2 separate regions of the Homo sapiens genome follow, and region 2 is linked to region 1. Evidence: promoter capture Hi-C in human tissues and cell types (Jung and others, 2019). All regions are on one chromosome and are shown on one strand. The core of a region is centred on a gene start or on the middle of the fragment in contact, and the rest is flanking DNA. Distances in the headings are between cores, read along the strand shown. Region 1 holds the start of PNISR (PNN interacting serine and arginine rich protein). Region 2 overlaps USP45 (ubiquitin specific peptidase 45).

Evidence for each region. Contacts are between HindIII fragments. The study calls those that stand out against the background at their distance.
Region 2: a fragment that was not itself captured here is called in contact with the fragment with the promoter of PNISR in region 1 in 3 of the 25 tissues and cell types used here (H1 embryonic stem cells, dorsolateral prefrontal cortex and hippocampus).

Annotation. Positions count from the first base shown.
Region 1 is chr6:99,421,449-99,428,081 of GRCh38, forward strand. PNISR (PNN interacting serine and arginine rich protein) reads right to left here and starts at 3,860. Exons shown (of 12, transcript NM_032870.4): 1 at 3,767-3,860. PNISR-AS1 (PNISR antisense RNA 1) reads left to right here and starts at 3,423. Exons shown (of 3, transcript NR_125843.1): 1 at 3,423-3,666; 2 at 3,776-3,939. RefSeq lists enhancers at 3,161-3,681, 3,502-3,971, 3,663-4,862, 3,682-4,201, 4,202-4,722 and 3 more and a silencer at 3,338-3,518. The HindIII fragment of the contact is 23,928 bases long and covers 1,476-6,633 here.
Region 2 is chr6:99,507,358-99,513,769 of GRCh38, forward strand. USP45 (ubiquitin specific peptidase 45) reads right to left here. Exons shown (of 18, transcript NM_001346022.3): 2 at 2,764-2,873; 3 at 1,253-1,425; 4 at 71-174. The coding sequence starts at 2,863. Among named protein-coding and RNA genes, the nearest start is that of USP45, 4.9 kb to the right of the region's middle. The HindIII fragment of the contact is 6,905 bases long and covers 1,421-6,412 here.

The sequences.
Region 1 (6,633 bases), core at 2,610-5,109:
CAAATTACAGTGAGTTCATATTTGATTAGGAGGGACCTTATTAAAAAGGAGACATAAGACACTTACAGGGAGAATGTAACATGACCACAGTGGTACAGATTGGGAGTAGATGGCTCTATAAGCCAAGGAACATCAAGGATTGACAAGAACTACCAAAAGCTAGGAAGAGACAAGAATCCCCTACAAAGCCATTAGAGAGCATGCCCTACCAAAACCTCAATTTTACACTGTTAGCCTTCAGAACTGTGGAAGAATAAATTTCTGTTGTTTGAAATCAGCCAGTTTGTGGTAATTTGCTACAATATCCCTAGAAAACTAATACAACCAGAAATGGCCATCATCTATTTTATCCTTTTCTTAAATGTATCTATATTAGAACTTCATCGCTTTGAGGTCCTAAAACAACTTGTTTAAATGACAATCATTTATTTATTATTGAGAAATTCTCACTCTGTCGCCCAGGCTGGAATGCAGCAGTGTGATCTCGGCTTACGGCAACCTCCACCTCCCAGGTTCAAGCAATTCTCATGCCTCAGCCTCCCGAGTAGCTGGGACTACAGGTGCATGCCACCGCGCGAGGATAATGTTTGTATTTTTTAGTAGGGATGGAGTTTCACCATGTTGCCCAGGCTATCCTCAAACTTCTGGCCTCAATGATCCATCCTCCTCAGCCTCCCAAAGTGCTGGGACTACAGGCATGAGCCACCCCGTGTGGCCAAAATGACAATCATTAATATTTACAAAAGTCACTCAGAGACTGTGACAGAGATGGATGAGAATTAAAATGTGGTATTTTAAAGTCCTTGAGCATCAACTACAAAATCAAAGAGCTACAGAAACACATCTATCATTTGATGCATAGGATGAAATATTTCTCAAATCAACCACAAAGCTGAGAAGCCAGAAAATACAACAATCCTCTTCACCCCTGACATTTCAGTCTTACATGAGTTGACTGACCTCAAAGTCAAAAAAGAATTTATTTGTTTAATTCAGATTAGGTGGAAATGGCACTGGTAAAAATTAATCTTGTAATCATTCGAAATACGGAAAACAGAAATTTTGCTACTTTATGTGACATGCATTTTAGTATATACTGAAATACTTGCAGCTTGTAGCTCAAAAGACTATTTTAAAAGTGGAGGACAAGCATGGCGGCTCATGCCTGTAAACCCAGCACTTTGGCAGGCCAAGGTGGGTTCATCACTTGAGGCCAGGAATTCGAGACCAGCCTGGCCAACATGGCGAAACCTCCACTCTACTGAAAATACAGAAATTAGCTGGGCATGGTGGCATATACCTGTAGTCCCAGCTACTTAGCAGGCTGAGGCAGGAGAATCACTTGAACCCGGGAGGCAGGGGTTGCAATGAGCCAAGATTGTGCCACCACTGCACTCCGGTCTGGGAAACAGAGTGACACTCTGTCTCAAAAAAAAAAAAAAAAAAAAAAACTGGAGAATTGGAGAGTCGGTTATAAATACCCCCCCAATAATAATTTAAAAATAAATGTAGCGAGAGCGCCCAAAATGACACCCTAGTAGCAACAAGCACACCTAGGCACGAGAACTTGGTTTTAATACCATTCTTCAATAAAAGGAATCAGAGATCTTTAAAGAAATAGCTGACTCTAGGACTGCGACAGGAAATATAAAAGATGAGTCTGGGGCATGTATACTGCCAGGAAGCAATAAAGTGCTAAAAAAAAAAAAATTGATAGGAACATGTCAAAGGAGAACAGTAGACAACTCGAAGAGCTGCCAATGGCCAAAGCTGGTACAATTTGAGCAACAAAATAAAGAAGTACTGGATTATAATATAAGTTATGTAATAAACATCCACAAGCCCATAAGGATATGATAAAATAAACTAACAAATAAATGTGAGGGAAGACACAAATCTCCCACAGAGAATTCCAAATAAATTATGTAAATATTCCACCCTAACTGAGGAAGAGCACAACTGTCCATTCAGTAAGCGTGGGCTCTGCAAAGTGACTTCCTTCCAAAGAGAACAGTATAAAAAGGGGTGGGGGAAGTAACTTTACAGTGGATAAATCTAACAAACGCTACTCCAGAAGGATGATCAAGGTCAGTAATAATGTGATAAGTCACCTTGATAGTATGTATCCTTGATAGCATGTGTTGAAAAGGGCATCTTACCTCTGTGATCTTCCCCTGATATAGTCCGTAAGGCCATTTTAATCATGAGAAAATCGTCTGGCAAATTCCAATAGCAGGGCACCCTACAATATACCTGACCATACTCCTCAAAAAATGTCAAGGTCACTGTATTAGTTTGGTATGCTTGCCATAACAAAGTACCAAAGACTGGGTGGCTTAAGCAACAGAAATTTATTTCCTCACTGTTCTGGAGGCGTATAGTGTAAGCTCTATGGGGTTGATTTCATTCTAAGGCCTCTCTCCTTGGCTTGTGGATGGTTGTCTTCTCCCTATGTCTTCACATGATCATCCCTCTGTATCCTACTCTCTTCTTATAAGGACAGCAGTTATTAATATATTGGGCTAAGGTCCACCCTAGTGACCTCATCTTCTTTAAAGACCCTCTCTCCAAATACAGTCACGTTCTGGGGTACTGAGGTTAGGACTTCAAGATACGAATTTTAGAGGGGCACAAGTCAGCCCTTAACAGTCATCAAAAACTAGTTAAGCCTGAGAAACTGTCACAGCCAAGAATATACAGCCTAAGAATATACAACAACTAAATGTAATGTGATATCCTAGCTGGCATCCTGGAACAGAAAAAGGACTTTAGGTAAAATGTGAGGAAGTAGGAATAAACTATGGACCTTAGTTAATAATTTATCATTATTGGTTCATTAGTTGCAACAAATGTACCATACTAACATCTATTAATAAGAAGATAAACTGTGTGTGTAGTGGGGACGTCGTATGTGCTCAACGTAAACAAAAACTGTTCTAAAACATAAAGTCTATTAGTAAGTTAAAAAAAAAAACTCTCAAGAACATCTTTAAAGAACTGTTTTCTCTATAAGCCCTTTGCCACTTTACAAAAAAATTCCACAAGTAAAATCTTTAGTAGTCTGGTTGCTGTTGTTTTCGCCCTGCTGCACTCAAATGAGGAATTCTAAGTTTATTTTGTTTTACTTGGGGGCAGGGGGAAGTAAAAAGATGTAAAAGATTAATGTTGAATTAAAATCTTAAGCTAGAATGTTAATTTAACAACCCACAAACAAATTTGTCTAATGCTCAATTTGTTCAGATGACGATACTATCCACCACAGGGTAAAAAACTGAAATATTGGATACTACCTTTAGCGAAGCTTAACACATAATATCCATCATTGGGTAAGAACACACGAAAAACACAAACTAAGGAACTGCGCCTGCGTAGTCAGAGCCTCAAAGGGTATAAGCTCCAGGTCGCGAGCCCCCGCCTCCTCCGCCCCCATGAACCCCCTTCCCACAAGGGGGTTCCCACTGCGCACGCGCAGTGTTTAACGGCCGGTCAGGAACCCAACAATTAGTCCCTTCTCGTCCGAGAGGAAACTCTGTGAGAAGATGGGACCGTGAGCACTCTCTTTAACAAGGACATTTCCTTTTCAGCGAAAGCAGCGCTCTGATTTACCAAGTCTGGCGGACCGCAGCGCTTTAAAGGAATGAGGTTCCAGCGGTCGCGCCAAGCAGCGTACGCAGCCTATTTTAAGTTATGCTACCTTCGCCACAGAAACCAAGAACGTTGTAATGGTCCGGCAAGTGCCCACGTATAATTGTTCTCCATCACTTACCCACTCTAGTTCGGGAACACCCTTGTCGCCGCCGTTCCGGTAACACCTCTCCAACGCTTTCGATGCTTCTACTTCTTCGGGAACAAGACAAGATGGCGCCCGATTTGTCTCACCCGGAAGTAAAGAATAATAACATCCGTTTGTCATCTGAAGCCATACCATCTCTCATCCAGGTTTGTGAACACGTGATTGTGCGGATTGACATGTTTCGGCGCCATTTTTTTTGTGGGCAAAACCATCTCTACTCTGGTCAACACCGGGCAACTGAACCATTCCTGCACGTTACTTTTTAACGTAGCTGGCGCCATTCCCGACCCATCTTTATAGTGGCCAGAAAGCCAAGAACGTAAGTGTTCTACACATAGGGCGCCTTCAAATTTTTTACTTTAGCAACGTGATCTTCCTTTAAGGGGAAGTATGTTCCCTCCTAGAAACACTCCCGCCTTGGAGAAGGGGTTGAGTTCGCAACTCCACTTACAGACTACGGAGGAACCCCAGGGTCAAACCAAACCAAACCAATTCTGGCCAGTTGCTTAGCGCAGTTCAAGTTACTTAGTGCGCTGGAAGCGGCATTTCAGGCAATCCAACTTCTGGCTCGAACCTTCTCGGAGTATTCCAAGGATGGAATACTCTCACTTGAGCGCTGCCGAGGGTGCCGCTTGAGGAAAACGTGAGTTTGTGAAGGTGAGCAGTCTGGGTCGGTAGCGAAAGCGGAGACCTTAGCTGACCCCGCAGCTGTCTTTCTCTTTGTTAACCTCAACACATCGCGCCCCCTTCCGGGAACACTTGCTCTTCTCTCCTTGGCTTAACTAGTCCCGGTTTTTCATTCTTTATCCGTGACTTTTAGGGAACCGTGGGGGGGAAGTCTGGTTTCCGTCCTGCTGCTTTCCTTCAACTACAAGATGGCTTCTCAAAAGGACGCATGCAATGCCATTCCTCAAAGACAGTATGTTGATTTCACAGTGTTTTTATATGAACAACGTTCAAGTGTCAAAAGTATCAATTTCCAGGCTAGGAGCTACAAGTTAAAAGGAAAACAAAAATGTTCCAAAGATACAGTGTTTATTAGCTACATCTTGGGAAGTGCCTTTCCAGAGAGTAACATGAAAACTTCTGCGTGACAAAGTGCACGAAGTATCTGAATTATTTCATTGGGCAATTGTCGTGCAAAAGAAATAGCAAATTACCGTAGAAACAAAATAGTAAGAGCACAGCTAGATGGATAAAGATACAGATGTGAAAATATAGATGCCCTTTGCATGAAAATTCAGTTTTCCTCAGCACTAGAGACCCAGATACTCCTGAATTAGCATTATAATAAAGTCGTCACTAGCTAACCATCTGCCTTTCCTCCAATCCACGGACGTGGTCCTCAAAATAACATTTTATCTTGTGAGAAACCTTCATTAATTACACCTAACAACACCATGACGCAGGTTCATGAGGATACTACTGAAGGCAAAAGGAAATCCCTATTTCTCTGACCCTTTCCCTAATTTCCACTTAGCACAAATAAGACTACTGGACAGTCTGATTTTAAAAAATCACTGTATGGGCCGGGCTTGGTGGCTCCCGCCTGTAATCCCAGCACTTTGGGAGGCCGAGGCGGGCAGATCACTTGAGGTCAGGAGTTCAAGACCAGCCTGGCCAACATGGTGAAACCCCGTCTCTACTAAAAATACAAAAATTACCTGGGCGTGGTGGCAGGCGCCTGTAATCCTAGCTACTAGGGGGGCTGAGGCAGGAGAATTGCTTGAACTCAGGGTCAGAGGTCGCAGTGAGCCGAGATCCCTCCACTGCACTCCAGCCTGGGCAACAGAGTGAGTCTCTGTCTCAAAAGAATAAAATAAATAAAAACCACTGTATGGAGCAAAAACTAGAAGGACATATACCACATGTTATCAGTAATCTCTAATTTTGCTCTGTGATTTTGTGCATTTTCCAAGTTTTTTGCATCAGGTCTGATTTTCAAGTTTAATTCTCTGAGAAACATTCTCATCAGAGGAATGTTCTATCTTCTTAGAGAAACCTGATTGGCCTAGTGAAACTGTCATGTTCCTACTCTCTATAATCATATTGTAATTCTTTGCTTGTTTCCCTAGTAAAGGTGAGGCAATTTTCGGGTAAGGGATTTCCCCCTCACCTCTGCCCTCCAAGTGGCCAGCATCTGCTTTGCACACAGAAATTTTTACATCTGCTATATGTTTGCATTAATATGTTCAACAATGATCCTAATGTAGGCCAGTCATTTTGGAAATGCATTGTGAAGTGGAGAGGATTATTAAATACCTCACATTTTGTTCCTTGTGCCAGTTTAATGAGACACCCTCAGCAATTGCTATTTACCAGACCAGAAAATGAATTTTACAGTTCCAATTCCAGTTCCCTTTCTCTAACCACTCTGTTCTAAGAGTTCCCCGTAACATTATGATCTTATGGACACATCAGGTAAGTGTATGTATTTCAACACAGAATTTTCTAAGAATGTGTGTTGTGGTGTTAAATTTCTATGTAAGCAGCTGTCACGTGCATGATCTGCTGCAGTTTGATCATCCTGCGCCTGGATCATCAAATGCTTAGCAGCCATCATTTTACCAGTCTTATCTGACAATCTGCTGTTAATGACTAACAACCAGGGGACTTTATAGGTTAAAATTTTTATTAACTTCCTCTGTTTTCAGTGTTTAAAGTAGAAAATTTGGCCAATGTGGCTCACGCCTGTAATGCCAATACTTTGGGAGGCCAAGGAGGGTGGATCACCTGAGGCCAGGAGTCTGAGACTAGCCTGGCCACCATGGGGAAACTGCCTACAAAAAAATACAAAAATTAGCTGGGTGTGGTGGCCCAGCTACTCAGGAGGCTGATGC
Region 2 (6,412 bases), core at 3,623-6,122, 87 kb after region 1:
AAGCTTAAAGAAAAAAAAAAATTGGGGGGCTGTGGTTAGTGGACACAAGAACTAACAAAATTTAACTTACCATATAATCCATGTGCTCAGATTAATTATAATACAATGGGGCTCTGTTCTGGAACTCTTAAAGTGCTTCAATGAATGTTGGCTTTCTGAGTTTTTACCACATCCCTGAAGATGAACAGAATTTTATTTTGTATGACTTACAAATGTTTGTTTCAAATTAATCAAAACTTAAATTATACTCACACTTATACTGAAAAGTTTTGTTTTTAATTTCAGGCCAGAGGAGAAAGTTTCAAAAAAGTAATATGGATTCTCATTAAATTTAATTTCTTGCCAACAGGCTAACATGCTCAATATACAGTATTTACCTAAAACAATCATGGGCAAAGTTAATTTCCCTATCATTTAAAAATGTGCACACTGTGGAACACCCAGCATCCTGGCAGGCCAGTGGTGCCCTTCTGCAAACACACATTTCCCAATCCCGTACACAACTTCACCCCAGCCTACTGAGAACTACTGAGACACAGACCAATCATAGCGATTTCCCTCACTAGGTAAGTAAAGAAATGAGATGCAATTCTGGTTAATGCAACATGAGGGGAAGTCAAATCCGCTGAATCTTTCCAGAAGGCTTTTTTTTTGTTTGTTTTTTAAGAGGAACACAACCATGAGGTTGAGGATGGCACAGCAGAAAACAGAATAAACCTCAGTTTTTAATGTTCTTTCCATTAAATTAACTAATCCTGAAGTGGCCTTACTTCTGGACATTTTGTGTGAAATAATAAAGATTTCTCTTATTTTTTTAAAAAAGTATATACTTTTAATTTCATTAAAAAAATTCCTTTATTACAGATATCAATAACTTTTAAACTTTAAGATTTTAAATTACTTTGCAAAAGCAGCAGAATAATCTGTTTTGAGAGAGAAAAAAATTAATCTGAAAGGTAGATCCATTTCCTAAGTAAATACAAAAGGTAAAGACTGGTCCAGATATGGGAACTACTGCAAATAGGTTGAATTACCTCTGCAAGTATTTATAAACCACACCTGATTACTTTCTGAACATAGCATACCTTTTACTTTACCTTAACAATCATTTTTAAGTTCATTCCTGGAAAATTTCTATCTAAATTGGAATAAATTTATCTTAACTCCTATGCATGACCAACAGTCCAACTCACAATAAGCATTTAAGGAAAACATTTCAGACAAACTCACATATAAATAATACTTTTCTTACCTGGAAGCCACACTTGAGGCACAACCAAATATCAGAAGTAAGTACTAGCTGCCCATCATAGAATCTTCTTTCTTTTAAACATTCTGAGCAAACTGACCACAGATTCTCAGCTATTGCTCTCTTTACATGATTCACGCTGATAGCATGACTTACATGTTGGCAAGTTAAACCTACTGAATAAGATAAAACAAAATCTCAACATTTTCTTTGCTACACCAAAGTGCTACCATTACTGAGCAAACCTCAAAAGTATTAAATGCTGTTAACTAAAAAGCACAGAGATTGAACACACAAAATAACTCAAAAGATATATGCTATATAATTCCATTTATATAATGTTCATGAAATAACATAATTATAGAATGAGAAGAGATTCATGGTTGTAGGGAGCAATGGACGCAAGGCAGAGGGTGTTGCTATAAATGGACAGCACATAGAGTGGTGATGACACAGTCAAGTATCTTGATTGGTGGTGGTTATACAAAGCTATACATGTACTAAAATGGGATGATGTTTCGATAGCCAGTTTGCTGCACTGAAGGATGTCTGAATTATCTCTTTAAATATCATTAGGACCTTATCTGATGTCCCTAATTTATTAGAGTTTAAATTTTTGAACTAATTTTAGATTCACAGGAAGGTATAAAGAAATATACAAGGAGGTCTCATTCACCCTTCACTGAGCCTCCCCTGATGTTAATGTTTTGCACTGCTATAGTAAAATATCAAAACCAGGAAGCTGACGTTGGTACAATCCTTAGAACTTATTCGGATTTCAGAAGACATAGGCACTCATATGTGAGTGTGTTTGTGTATAGCTGTATGCAACTATGCATACCTAAAATGGAAAAAATATATTAAAAATATCCCTTTAAATGGAGAGAACTAGCAAGAAAGTGAGGAAAATCCTCAGAGGCCCAAATCAAAAGCATGAGGCTAAAGAGAAAACCAAGCCCTGAGGCCAGCAGCTCCCAAAAGCCATCTGCCAAGCTCTGGTGGCTTGGTGACATGGTTTTAATAGGCCATGAGAAAGAGACCAAAAAAAAAAAAAAAGCCAATCTAAGTTACTTCATGTTATAAACTAAACAAAATCCTAATAAAAATGCCAACAGGATTTTTTGGAACTAGAAAAGGTGATTCTAATATTTATGCAGAAAACAGTAAAAATAAAGAGTAACAGATTTCTTAATTAAAAACATATACAGTCTTCCCTCAGATACTTGAGGCAGGGAGGTGGGGTGGGGTAGTTGGTTCTAGGACCTCCCCACATATACCCAAATCTGTGCATACTCAAGTCCCGCAGTGGGCCCCGTGGAATCTGCATTTAGAAGTCAGCCTGCCAAGTATGCAGTTTTCACGCATCCCAAGAATAGTGTATTTTCCATCTAGGTTTGGTGGAAAAAAATTTGTGTACAAGTTGATCCTCAGCGTTCAAACCCATGTTGTTGAAGGGTCAACTGCATTGTTATTTCTTCTCAACACTATTTGGGATGCCATATATCACAATTTACCAGCAATATCATCTGAAGAGTCTTCATCATGAGGTACAGTAGGCCTTTTACTTCTTTTGGCTTTCTCAGGTAAAGCTTTAGTTGGATCTTTCACCCGCATCTGTTATTTACTGAAGGGATTGAGGGAAAAAAATTCATACATTTTAGTCTTCAAAATTAAAATTTTATATTTTATTTAATGTGTATTAAAACTGAAATGACTTCAATTTCAACTGGTCCGGGAAATCAACAGAGGAAGAAGAGGGGAACATCACTTGAAATGAAATAAATCTTTGTTAAATCAGTATACACATGGTATATTCCATTGGCTTTTGCCAACTATACCATTATGGACTAAATGTTTGTGTCCCCACTCCAAATTGATATGTTGAACTCTAATCCCCAAAGTGATGATACTTGGAGGTGAAGCCTTTGAGAGGTAATTAGGTCATGTAGGTGGAGCCCTCATGAATGAGACTGGCCTCTTATAATAAGAGGCTAGAAAGCTACCTTTGTATCCACATGAGGATATACGAGAAGATGGCCATCTATAAACCAGGAAGAAGGCCCTCACCAGATACTAGATTTGCCAGCATCTTGACCCTGTACTTCCCAGCTCCCAGTATTGTGAGAAATAAGTCTGTGTTGTTTAAACCACCCAGTCTATAATAATTTGCTATACCAGGCTGAACCAAGACACAACCCCTAAATATATGATGTCCAGGTGAATGACCAAAACTAAAGTTTTCATCAACGGAGTAAGTATTGCTTCTGGATAATGAGTTCTCTTTACCCTTTCCTCCCTTCTGCTAGCAAGGAAATAGTAGGAGCTGGATGAGCCATACTGGATCAAAAATGGATAGCTGTAAGCCAAGCATAGTAAAGCCACTCTATACCTGTGTTGTACAACTAGCACTGGAATATTAAGAGAAAATTAAATTTCTATCTTTTTAAGCTACTACATTTTTGGGGGTTTTTCACTCTAGCTTTTTATCATGAAAAATTTTAAACATCTACAAAAGTTAAAAGAACAGTATAATGAACACTCATATACTAATTAGATTCCACATTTATATTATTATTACTATTATTATTATTATTATTATTTTGAGATGGATCTCGGCTCACTGCAACCTCCACGTCCTGGGTTCAAGCAATTCTCCTGCCTCAGCCTCCCAAGTAGCTGGGATTACAGGCGTGTGCCACCAGGCTTGGCTAATTTTTTTTGCATTTTTAGTAGAGATAGGGTTTCACTGTGTTAGTCAGAATGGTCTCGATCTCCTGACCTCGTGATCCGCCCACCTCAGTCTCCCAAAGTGCTGGGATTACAGGCGTGAGCCACCGTGCCCGGCTATTATTATTTTTTGAGACAAAGTCTCACTCTGATGGCCCAGGCTGGAGTGCAGTGGCCTGATTTCAGCTCACTGCAGCCTCAACCTCCCCAGGCTCAGGTGATACGCCCACCTCAGCCTCCCAAGTAGCTAGGACTACAGGTGCACACCACAATGCCCAGATAATTTTTTTGTATTTCTTAGTAGAGATGGGATTTCCCCATGTTGCCCAGGCTGGTCTCGAACTCCTGGGCTCAAGCAATCCACATGCCTTGGCTTCCCAAACTGCTGGGATTACAGGTATGAGCCATGGTGCCCCACCAATTCCACACCTATTAACAATTAGCTATGTTTGTTTTTATCTAAATATCAATATGTGTGTATAGAGAGACACATATATGTATGTGAGTGTGTGTATATATATATATATATATATATATATATATATATATATATACACATAGTTGAACTATTTGAAAGTTGTAGAGATCTTGACAGTTCATCCCTAAATACTTCAGCATGTATCTCTTAAAAATAAGCACATTCTCCTATATAACAATGTAATCATATCTAAGAAAATTAATAATTTTCTAATATCATCTCATATTCCATCATATTCTAATTTCCTTAGTTGACCCTAAATTGTCTTCTATAGCTGGTTTTTTGAAAAAGATTCAATCAAGGTTTGCACTTGATATTGGTTATGTCTCTTTAGTATCTTTTAATCTATTAACAGAACAGTTCTTCCAACCTGTTACTTGCCTAAGACTTTAGCTTTTTAAAGAGATCAGGCCAGTGCATGAGTCACCTTGAGGGTCTTGTTAAAATGAAAGTTCTGATGCAACAAGTCTGGCACAAGACCTGAGATTCTACCTACCTAAAAAGCTTCTAACTGAAGCCACTGCTGGGGGCCCATAGAATACTCTTTCGACAGCAAAGTTATATAATGTCTCACACTGAATTTGTCTCTTTCTTCATAGTGTTATTTACCTCTATCCCTTATATTTATTAAAAATTCAGTTAATTATCAAAGATTTTAGATACAAGCTAAGCATTTTTTAAAACTACTATATTTTGGAGTCTCTGTTAGAGTAGCTTGGCCTACCTTTTACTCTCCTGCCTGGTGGCTAAGCAACATCGCAATTTTCATGGTTGCTGACTTACTTCTCAATGATCAAGGTAATGAATCTTTCAATTCAGTACTAAATTCCAAATCTTGATTTATTCATTCCATAATTCACAATAAGGGAGCTTTCAAGTTTACCATTAAGTCCAACGGTCATCACTACTGAACTAAGTTGCAATAAATTAAGGGCTTCCGGGTTAGGAACATGTAAAAAGCCTCTGAGTTCCTTGAGCACTTCATCTCTACCTTCTCCCTCCAAACTTCCTCATCTACTCTCCCCTACAGTTCCACCTTATAAAATCACTAATTTAAGTATCCCCTTCTCTGACAGCAACTTCCCAGTTCTTCCAACTTGCCTGATCAGCCACTCATATTTTCCTATAGTGTCCAGGCTGACAAGAGGCTGCATCTCAACAAGTCCTTCCATGACCCTTACAGCAGGGCAGGGAGAAGTGGAAATGGCAAATGGAGAGCTGCTTCCTAAAGCAAGTCACATGGCACATTTAACTTCAAGCAGACATGGAGAGGGGTTGCCCATGTACAAAGAGTGCAGCATTACATGTACCCAAAAATAGGTGAACCGGAATACTTGTGCAGAGCCTTAAGGACTACATCACCTCTCTCGCAGAACCCAATCCTAGATGAACCCAATTAACCATTTTCTCCATGTCGGGAGAAAGTCTCTTAAGAAAGCAGACTAGGTCCATTATTATTCACTTCACCTTCTGGTCAACTTACATACTATCCACAGAGCCATTTCAAATCTTCTTCACTTTCCTCAAACCTCTAACCCCTCCAACTCCCAACTAACTTACCAAAAACTGATCTAGTCTTTTATAAGGGAAAAGAGACATAAGCAGACGGCAAATTTGATCTTTCTAACCCCAAATTTGCAAACCTACCTCCATCAATTTAAATTTGATGTCCTGAAAAGAGATAGGTATAACTAATAAAGTACAGGGAAAATGGCCTATGAGAAACTGATTATATTTTCTCGCTGTGGTACAGATAAGCTCTTGATAAAGATGAGCATTAACACAGATAATGCTAGCAAAATAATAAACAAAACCAGGCATTTGACCTACATACTGTAAGCAACCTGTGCCTTTTTTCAAAAACACTGACTCAAAATTAACTTGGTAATGTAGAGGCAATTTCTGATGATTTTTCTGCCATATGTAATGTCTAAACAGACAGAATCATTTGGTACAGT